2 separate regions of the Homo sapiens genome follow, and region 1 is linked to region 2. The links are contacts of gene promoters, found by promoter capture Hi-C in human tissues and cell types (Jung and others, 2019). All regions are on one chromosome and are shown on one strand. Each heading gives the region's core, a stretch centred on a gene start or on the middle of the fragment in contact. The rest is flanking DNA. Distances are from core to core; before and after follow the strand shown.

The links. The method cuts DNA at HindIII sites, captures the fragments that hold promoters and counts their contacts. A contact is called where the count stands out against the background at its distance.
Region 1: a fragment that was not itself captured here is called in contact with the fragment with the promoter of CHERP in region 2 in 1 of the 25 tissues and cell types used here (lymphoblastoid cells).

What each region holds. Positions count from the first base shown.
Region 1 is chr19:16,389,399-16,394,575 of GRCh38, forward strand. EPS15L1 (epidermal growth factor receptor pathway substrate 15 like 1) reads right to left here. Exons shown (of 24, transcript NM_001258374.3): 18 at 4,553-4,603; 19 at 2,906-3,042. Among named protein-coding and RNA genes, the nearest start is that of KLF2, 67 kb to the left of the region's middle. The HindIII fragment of the contact is 3,848 bases long and covers 1-3,639 here.
Region 2 is chr19:16,541,000-16,545,476 of GRCh38, forward strand. It overlaps CHERP (calcium homeostasis endoplasmic reticulum protein), which reads right to left and starts at 1,438. Exons shown (of 17, transcript NM_006387.6): 1 at 1,355-1,438; 2 at 871-1,044. The coding sequence starts at 1,379. RefSeq lists silencers at 1,070-1,139, 1,150-1,339. The HindIII fragment of the contact is 9,580 bases long and covers 1-3,102 here.

The DNA.
Region 1 (5,177 bases), core at 466-2,965, 150 kb before region 2:
AGCCAAGATCACACCACTGCACTTCAGCCTGGGCAACAGAGTGAGACTCTGTTTCAAAACTAAAAATAAAAAAATGACAACACAGTCGACCTGAGCTATAAGAAGTGCTAAAGAAAGTTCTTTAGGCTGAAGGAAAATGATAATGGAGGGAAAACCAATCTTCAGTAACAAATGAAGAGTATCAGAAATGGTACATATTTGGGTAAAACTAAATGACTACTTTTTTCCTCTTTCTTTACAATACCCACAATGGATTAATACAAAAATTGTAACAGTCTTATGGAGTTTCTAATGTATTTAGATGTATGAAATTCACATGACGGCTATAACATAAGACATGCTGGCTGCAAGGGTGGGTGGACAAATGGACCTACATGGTTGCAAGTTTTCTATATTTTACATGAGATAATACAATACTAACCTCAAGTAGACTATGAAAAGTTAAAGCTGTACATGATATTTCCTAAAGCAACCTCTAAACAATCATTAAAAGAGGTATGATTAAAATAATAAAAGGCCAATAGACAGAATTCAAAAAAACATTCAAACAATTCAAAAGAAAGCAGGAAACAAAACATGGGATAAAAAGCAAGCAAATAATAAAATAGTAGACTTAAACCATATCAATAATTACATTAAATGTTAATGGACTAAACATTACACTTACAAGGCAGGGACTTCTGACTGGATTTTAAAAAAAAAAGCAAGCCCCAACACTATGCTACTTACAAAAGACACCTATCAGTTTTAAAGATCCAGGTAAGTTGAAAGTAAATGGTTGAAAAATGATGTATCATGTAGTGAATAACATGAGGAGAATGAAGTGATTAAACAGACTTCAAGACAAAGAACATCACCAGAGATCAAATGGGAATCTTTTATAATGATAAAAAGGTTGTTGTGTCAGAAAGACACAACAATCATAAACACCTATGCACCTGACAAAGCTTCAAAATACACAAAGCAAAACTTGATCAAATTAAAGTGCAGTATGAACAATTCCACAATCATAGGAGAATGTTTAACGCCTCTCTCTCAGACACTGGTAGGACTAAAAAACAAACAAACAAGACACAGATAATCTGAACACTATGAGGAACCTCAACCTCACTGCCATTTGTAGAGCATTACACCCAACAACTAGATACACATTCTTCTCAAGTGTACATGGTTTGTTCACCAACATAGGCCACAAACAACAACCCTTGATTAATGTGAAGGTATTGAAAACATACAGAATATGTTCTCAAATAACAAATTTAATTAAAAATCAATAATAATAGTATTATAATATACCTAGGAGAAAAAGCCAAGTATCTGGAAATGAAACAACATACTTTTAAGTAATCCATAAGTGAACAGAATTCACAAGGGAAACTGGAAAATATCTCAAAACTGAATGGCAATGAAGAGATAAAGTATTCAAATATATGAAATACATGTAAAGCAGTGCTTAAGGGAAATATGTTGCTTTAAATTTATACAGATGCTCCTTGACTTACCATGGGGTTACATCCTGATAAACCCATTGTAAGTTGAAAATATTTTAAGTTGAAAATGTACGTAATATCCCAATAAACCCATCACAAAGCAAAAAATCAGAAGTCAAACCAATGTTAAGTCCAGACACTCCTTGACTTATGATGGGACTGCATCTCGATAAAACTATTGTAAAGTCAAAAAACTGTAAATTGAACCATCGTAAGTCAGGGACCGCCAGTACTAGAAAATGAAGTCTAAAATTAATGAATGAAGCTTGGATCTTAAGATGTTAGAAGAGCAAAGTAACCCCAAATAAATAGGAGTAAGGAAATGGAAAAAAATAGAAATAGAAAAGAGAAAATCAATGAAATAGAAAACAAGCAGTAGAGAAAAATGAAGCCAAAAGCTGGTTATGGGAAAGGTCAATGAAATTGGTAAACAGATCACCAATACCAGGAATGCTAGGGAAATTCTCACTACAGGTCTTAAGGACATTAAAAAGGGGCCAATAAGAAAATACTGCAAATGAGTCTTTGCCTTCAAGGAGCTTCAAGCGCTAAAGACCAAAAGGTCCACAGGGAGTGAGCGAGGTGGGCGCCAGGGTAGCAGGAGCCCTGAGAAGGAGGGTGAGTGCCCGTCTCTGAGCAGGCCCCGGGCCTGGGTTGCAGCCTAGAAAACGGAAGAAGGCTATGAAGCACGCTCACTCCATCATGAACATCCTCTGCTCCATCACCGAGGCTGCTTTTTTTTTTTTTTTTGGTTTTGAAATCCAAGTTGACACCTATTTAACCCAATCTCTTGGGCATAATATGCAAAATACCCGGTGTCTGCCACGCCCGGGGATGGGAGTACAGGTATGCTGGAGTTGGAAACTGGAGGGTCAGAGTTGGCTGATGCTCTCAGGAGACACCAGGCAAGGCAGCCGGGCTGAGACGCCTGCACTTACTCCTGCCGTGACGGGAGCACCTACCAAACGTGACTCTAAGGTCCCCACCAGTGCTGTGTGTTACAAGGACCGTGCAGGGTGGCCGGGTCCATGCGAGCATGTGGTGCTTGTGTGATTTAGTCTTTTTTGGGAGATGAAGGGGCAGTGGGGGCAGATGACTAGAGTTGAGGGGTAGGAATGGGGATAGAGAAATAAGAACTATGGGTGACATCCTCCTTGCCCTGATGTGGGGCCACTGGACTGCTAACTGCACCTTGGGGCTCACAGGATGTCACTGCAGTGACTAGGCCAGTGAGCTCCCTCACTCAGCAGGAATGAAATCAGCCTGGGATACCAGCTCCCGGAGAACAGACACCATGGCCCACACTCGCAGGCACCATGTACGCTCCACGAAGGGAAGGGGGCCTTCGGGAAGCGCCACCCTTACCACACAGAGCAGGCACGCAGCTCTCCCGGGCAACGTCCCACCCCACTCACCTTCGAAGGTAAGGAAGGGTTTTTCGTGAATGGATCCGAGGTAAATGGGTCATTCTTTGTCTGTTTCTTGAAGAAGTCGTCAGTGGCAGAGCCACGGAATGGGTCACTTTCTTTGAAAGGGTCCCCTCCAAATGGATCTAGAAGGAAAAATGCCCCATAAGTAAACATTATACCAAGTGAAAGAACCCAGACATAAAAGAACACATCACAGAATGATGCCGTTTACATGAAATTCTAGAAAGGTAAGAACGCTAGTGACGGAAAACAGGATAATGGTGGCCAGGGGACCCTGAGGAGAGGGTGGAGGGTGACAACAAAGGGGCCTCAGGAATGACAGAAGTGTTCTCAAATTGCACACAACCGTGCATATTTAATGAAACTCATCTTATTACATAGTAAAATGGGTGAATTTTGTTCTGTGTAAATTATGCCACTCAATAAAATTGACTTTAAAAATAATAATATCCTGGCCAGGCACAATGGCTCATGCCTGTAATCCCATCACTTTAGGAGGCTGAGATAGGAGGATCACTTGAGGCCAGGAGTTCAAGACCAGCATGGGCAACACAGAGAAAAATAAAATAAAAAATTAGCCAGGTGTGGTGGCACACGCCTGTAGTATCAGCTACTAAGGAGGCTGAGGCAGAAAGGCTGCTTGAGCCCAGGAGGTCAAGGCTGCAGTGAGCTATAATTGCGCCACTGCACTCCAGCCTAGGCAATAGAGTAAAACCCCATCTCTAAATAAATAAATAAAATATCCTGCAGGAGCTGGATATAATAATAATAATAATAATAATAATAATAATAATAATAATAATAATAAACAACGCAGGTAAATCCATAGAGACAGAAAATAGGTTGGTGGGTGCCAGGGGTTGCGGGAGGGAATGGGGAGTGACTGCTGATTGGGATGGGGTCTCCTTTTGGGGGGATGAGAATGTTGTGGAACTAGATGAAGGTGATCATTGCACAACACTGTGAGTGTGCTCAATACCACTGAATTGGATGCTTTAAAACAGTGACTTTTATGTTACATAAATTTCACCTGAAAAAAAATAAATCGGTCGGGCATGGTGGCTCACGCCTGTCATCCCAGCACTTTGGGAGACCAAGGTGGGCAGATCACCTGAGGTCAAGAGTGTGAGACGAGCCTGGCTAACACGGTGAAACCCCGTCTCTACTAAAAATACAAAAAATTAGCCGGGCGTGGTAGCGGGCGCCTGTAGTCCCAGCTACTTGGGAGGCTGAGGCAGGAGAATGGCGTGAACCCGGGAGGCGGAGCTTGCAGTGAGCCGAGATCGCGCCACTGCACTCCAGCCTGGGCGACAGAGCGAGACTCCGTCTCAAAAAAAAAAAAAATAAAAAATAAATAAATAAATAAATAAATAAAATAAATAAATAAATTAGCAAGCAATGTGATCCCACCACACTCCAGGGTGGGGTGCGGGCAGTGACTGGACCTGGGGAGGGGAGCCACCTCCAGAAGGGAACGGGACCGAGAATGGGTACAACATGGATGGACGGCCGTCCTTCCCAGTTACATGGCTGCCATCCCCGGTGTATGTGGACACAAGTCCCACCACATGCGACTTCTGAGCCAGGACTGGACACAGTCTAAAGACCGGTCCGGGAAACACTGAATTTTACCTGTTGAAGTTGTCTGCTGTTCTGCAAAGGGGTCATTCTGGAACGGGTCGCCTGGTTGGAAGAGGAGAGAAATGCTTATTAGCTCTAGGGCACAGGATGCGGGCCGGGCCCTTGGACACAGCCACCCACCTCCCAAGCCTTTCATTGCCTTCTACTCCTCCAGTGTAGGGAGAGAATGTTAGTTCCTTCTCTACTATCCACCTGCCCTCAAAACCTTGGCAAATCAAAGAGGGGGACCTGGAGGAGGCAGCTGTTTCTGGCTAGGATGTTTAAGATGAGAAGGAAGGTACTGCTGGCTGTCCCACACAGACTGGAGTTGGGGAAGACACAGAGTGGGCTAGAATTCACTCCTCTCTTCCCATGCTGGGTTTCCTTTATCCCATCTGCCTGCCAGCTCCCTGGGTAAGAGGACACAGGACCCTGGGCTGTCCCTCACTTTATCACCGGCCCTGCAGCAATGAGGCGGCGGCACCCCTGGGCTTCAGGGGCTGCCAGATTCGCCTCTCAGACCCGGCAGGCTTCAAACCCAAGCTGAAGCTCAAGCTCCCGCTGCCCTCTCCCCACCTCAGTGTTTTTCTCAAAAATGTAGAGAGCCTTCCTCCTGGAAATACTGTTTTGCTCTGAA
Region 2 (4,477 bases), core at 188-2,687:
TTTCAAGCTGTTTAATCGAACACCAACTGTGTGTTATGTATTAAGGGACAATGACCTTGTACCTTAATACAAGACGAGCGTGTAGTCCCCTGAACTACACGCTCGCCGAAGCCAAACAGACCTTGTTTGGGTCATTGTACCTTAATACATAACACACAATTGGCGTTCGATCAAACAGCGGACAACCACCTCTCAATGTCCATCTACCTGGCAAACTCCTAGTTATTCATTTAAACAATCTAGAGACGGGGTTGGGTACTGAACGTGACAGATGTGATACCTGCCCTGAGCAGCCGCACCACCTGGTGACTATCCATTATTCAAAGGCCAGCTCTGCTTCCTAACTTTAAACTTCTTTAGAGCAGGACTGGAATCCTGTTGCCTAAATGAACGAACATTGATAAACACTTGCCAATAACTAAAACTCAGAGGGATAATTCTTTTTGATTTCTGCTGCAGGCATCTGAAATGCACAAAACCTTGCTGGACCCACAGGGAGACGGCAAAGGGGGCTGGACAGTGCCTGTCCCATGGACTCCCATCCGGCCTCTATCACTTCCTCCCTAGAAAACACTAAAACAATCACGCTACTCCTGCTAATCTCCGTCATCAGTCTGCAAAACAACAGCAAAATCCCTGATCCAGAGCCCAGGGGGGAGGATCGAAAACCTCGTTGTTCTCCATTACAGTGGCACCCAGCAGCCGCTCTGTGCAGGGCCGTGGGAACAGCGGAACAGGGATCGTGTGGACCGAGCTGCTCCACTTCAAAGAATAAACGACCCGAAAGAAAGAGGTTTGTGGCAGAGCCCGGACTGGAATCCGAGAAAGGAAGCGCTCGATGGGACGGCCTGAGTGCCGGAGGGGACTCACGCTGCTGCTGCTCCAGCGCCAGCTTGCACTTGTAGTAACTGTAGAATTCGCCTCCGAAAAGAAACGAGAATTTGGGGTTGTCCTTCTGCTTCTCCATAGTCATCTTCTCAAACTCGGGCCCATTGCGAGCCACGAACTGGGCGAGCTTGTCGATGACATTTCGAAGCTCCTGGTCTGGAGGACGGAGAAAAGGCCACGCGGGGCGTCAGCGAGGACCGCCCAAAGCCGGGGGACTCGGCGCCCCAGCCCCCGTCCGCCTTGCCGGGGACCCCAAGGGGGTGGGCCCCGAAGAGGCCGCCCTTGTACGGGTCCCGATAGGGGCCACACGCTCGCCGGGAATGCGGGGACCCACGGGAGAGGCCGCAGGCGAAGCCGCGAGGCCGAGCCCCGCCCCCTCCCAGACCCGGGGACTCCGGGAGGCGGGGCCGGCCAATAGGAGGTTCCGGGGAGAGAGAAACGGTCTCTCGGCCGGTTTGGGTCTCACCATCGGGGGGCAGCGGCATCTCCATGGCTCCGGCCGCGGGGAACGTCCTCCGGCGCCACACGATCGACCACCAGCGCCGTCTGCGGAAGCCGGCCGGAAGTGGCGCGAGGGAGCCGTTTACGGCGGGCTTCTAGGGCCGCTTCCGCCCGCCACTTACGGCCGTCGCTGGGAAACTCCGGAAGTGAGAGCGGGAGGCAGGCGGGAAGAAGCCGCGCGATGCCTGGCGCGCGGGAGGGGCTAGCGACGCGCACGCGCAGAAGTTTCCTGACACTTTCGCAGAGTGGGTCCCCGTCGCGCGGCGCCGCGGAAAGGCTGGAACGGCGCGGGTGGGTGTTAGTCGAGACCGGGGGGCGCGGGGCGTGCCCCTTGGTCGGCGTCGCAGCCCGATGGGCTGGCTGGTTGCTACCTCCGGGCGACCAGGGGCCTGGGGACTTCGTGCCTGGGCCAGGGTCTCTTTCCTTTCGCGGGCACAGTGAGGAGACTGCGAGGTGAGGTGCGTCCGGGTGGATCCCGGGCTGCGGCGACTGTCACATTCTCCCCGGCCAGACCGGAGGTGGAGCAGAACTGGGGGCGACGAGCTTGACTGGGATTGCAGCTGGACGTATTTAGGTTCAAAACATCCTCCTCCTGGCTTTCTTCCGCTCCACTCTTTGGTCAGGAAGACTGGGGCGGGGTACCCCCCAACCCATGCCCTCAAATTGCTGGCCTAGAGGGCACAGCGCCTTTCTAAAAGCTGCAGTTGGGTTGCCTCTAAAATAATGAAGCTAACCCTTGCTAATTGTGGGGAAAAGATAGCCAGAAGCAGCAAATTTCTGCTGTGGACGTCCGATATAAACTGATCCTCTTGAGATGGTTAATGCTTAGTTGGCTATACCTGCCCCCCGCCCCCGCCGCTTTTTTTTCCTTTATCCGTTTTTTTTTTTCTTTTTTCTTGAGACAAGGTCTTGCTCTGTGGCCCACGCTGGAGTGCAGTGTCATGATCATAGCTCACTAGCCCTGAACTCCTGTGCTCAAGTAATCCTCCCGCCTCGGCCTCCCAAAGTGCTAGGATTATAGGCATGAGCTACTTTACCCAGCCTGTTTTTTTCTGTGCAAATAAATGCACATGTATTTTAGATTAGTTTCATTTTTATTGTTAACAGCATTTTTCCACCAGATGCTTATGGATTGACAACTCTACATCAAGTGTTGCTGTAGGCTAGGAATCAACAAAACTTTTTGTATAAAAGGGACAGAAAGCAAATATTTTAGACTCTGCAGGTCAGGAGGCAAGATCAAGGATTTTTTTTTTTCTAAATGTCCTCTAGTTCATATTTTCTCATGAAGATCGAGGATCTTAATTGTTTGGTTTTTTTTTTTTTTTGAGACACAGTCTTGCTCTCTCTCGCCCAAGCTGGAGTGCAGTGGTGTGATCTCGGTTCACTGCAACCTCTGCCTCCCGTGCTCAAGCAATTCTCCTGCCTCAGCCTCCAGGGGAGCTGGGACTACAGGTGCGCACCACCACGCCCGGCTAATTTTTGCATTTTTAGTAGAGATGGGGTTTCACCAGGTTGGCCATGCTGGTCTTGAACTCCTGACCTCACATGATCTGCCTGCCTTGGCCTCCCAGACTGCTGGGATTACAGGTGTGAGCCACCCTACCCAGCCTTATTTAGGTATTTCTATAACCAGAAAGAAAAGTTCATAAAATTTTTGTTGGTGAAAATCAAAATATGATAACTGAGTAGTTTCTTAAATACAAGTTGCTACAGTTTGAATGTTTGTTCCTAATCCCCAGTGAAACAGTATTAAGAGGTGGAGCCTTTAAGAGGTGATTGGGTTATGAGGTCGTGCCATTCATGTGTTAATGGATAAATAGGTTATCATGGGAGTGGGACTGGTTTGGAGCTTGCAGTGAGCTGAGATTGCACCACTGCACTCCAGCCTGGGCGACAGAGTGAGACTCCATCTCAAAAAAAAAAAATAAATAAAATAAATAAAATAAAATAAAAAGAGGAAGAAAGGCCAGGCTCAGTGGCTCATGCCTGTAATTCCAGCACCTTGGGAGGCCAAGGCACGCAGATCACCTGAGGTCAGGAGTTCGAGACCAGCCTGGCCAACATGGAGAAATCCCATCTCTACTAAAAATACAAAAATTAGCCGGGCATGGTGGCGGATGCCTGTAATCCCATCTACTTGGGAGGCTGAGGCACGAGAATCACTTGGACCCAGAAGGCAAAGGTTGAGGTGGAGGTTACAGTGAGCCAAAGTCGTGCCACTGCACTCCAGCCTGGGCAACAGAGCAGGACTCCGTTTCAAAAAAAAAAGGAAGAGAGACCTGAGCTTGCACACAGCCTGCTAGCCATGTGATGCCCTGTGCTACCTCAAGACTCTGCAGAGTCCCCACCAGCAAGAAGGCCCTTGATTTTGGATATCTCAGCCTCCAGAACTGTAAGAAATAAATTTCTCTTCTTTAAAAATTGCCCAGTCTCAGGTGTTCTTTTATAGCGATGCAAAATGGACTAAGACCCAAGTCTATTCATAAGAGTGGAATTCTTTTGGGGGATAACATTTCACTTAATTGGGGCTCCCAGTTGTATTTCCTGTCGTCAATTGATGGTACATGTTCACCTTTGAAAAACCTTCCTGGCTCACAAAAACAGGCGGCCAGTTGGATGTGGTTTATAGATACGGTCATGCACAACTCAGATCTCAGCTCTGCTCTCAGGGGACTCAGTCTATGGCGGGGAAGAGTCCCAAAATCAGTAAACAAATATATCATCTCAAAGGTGTTATTAAGAAGAGGATGCTGAGACTATGATACAAGGGAGGGTGAGGCCCAGGCTGATAGGGTTGTCAGGAAAGGCTCTCGAGGTGAGGTCTGCACTATGATCTGAACAAGGGGCCAGCTCTAAACACCCTAAACAGGCAGAGAGAACAGTGTGGGATCATACTGTTTATTTAAAAAATATTTTTTATTTTTTATTTTTTTTGAGATGGAGTTTCACTCTTGTTGCCCAGGCTGGAGTGCAATGGCGTGATCGCGGCTCACCACAGCCTCCGCCTCCCGGGTTCAAGCAATTCTCCTGCTTCAGCCTCTCGAGTAGCTGGGATTACAGGCATGCGACACCACACCCGGCTAGT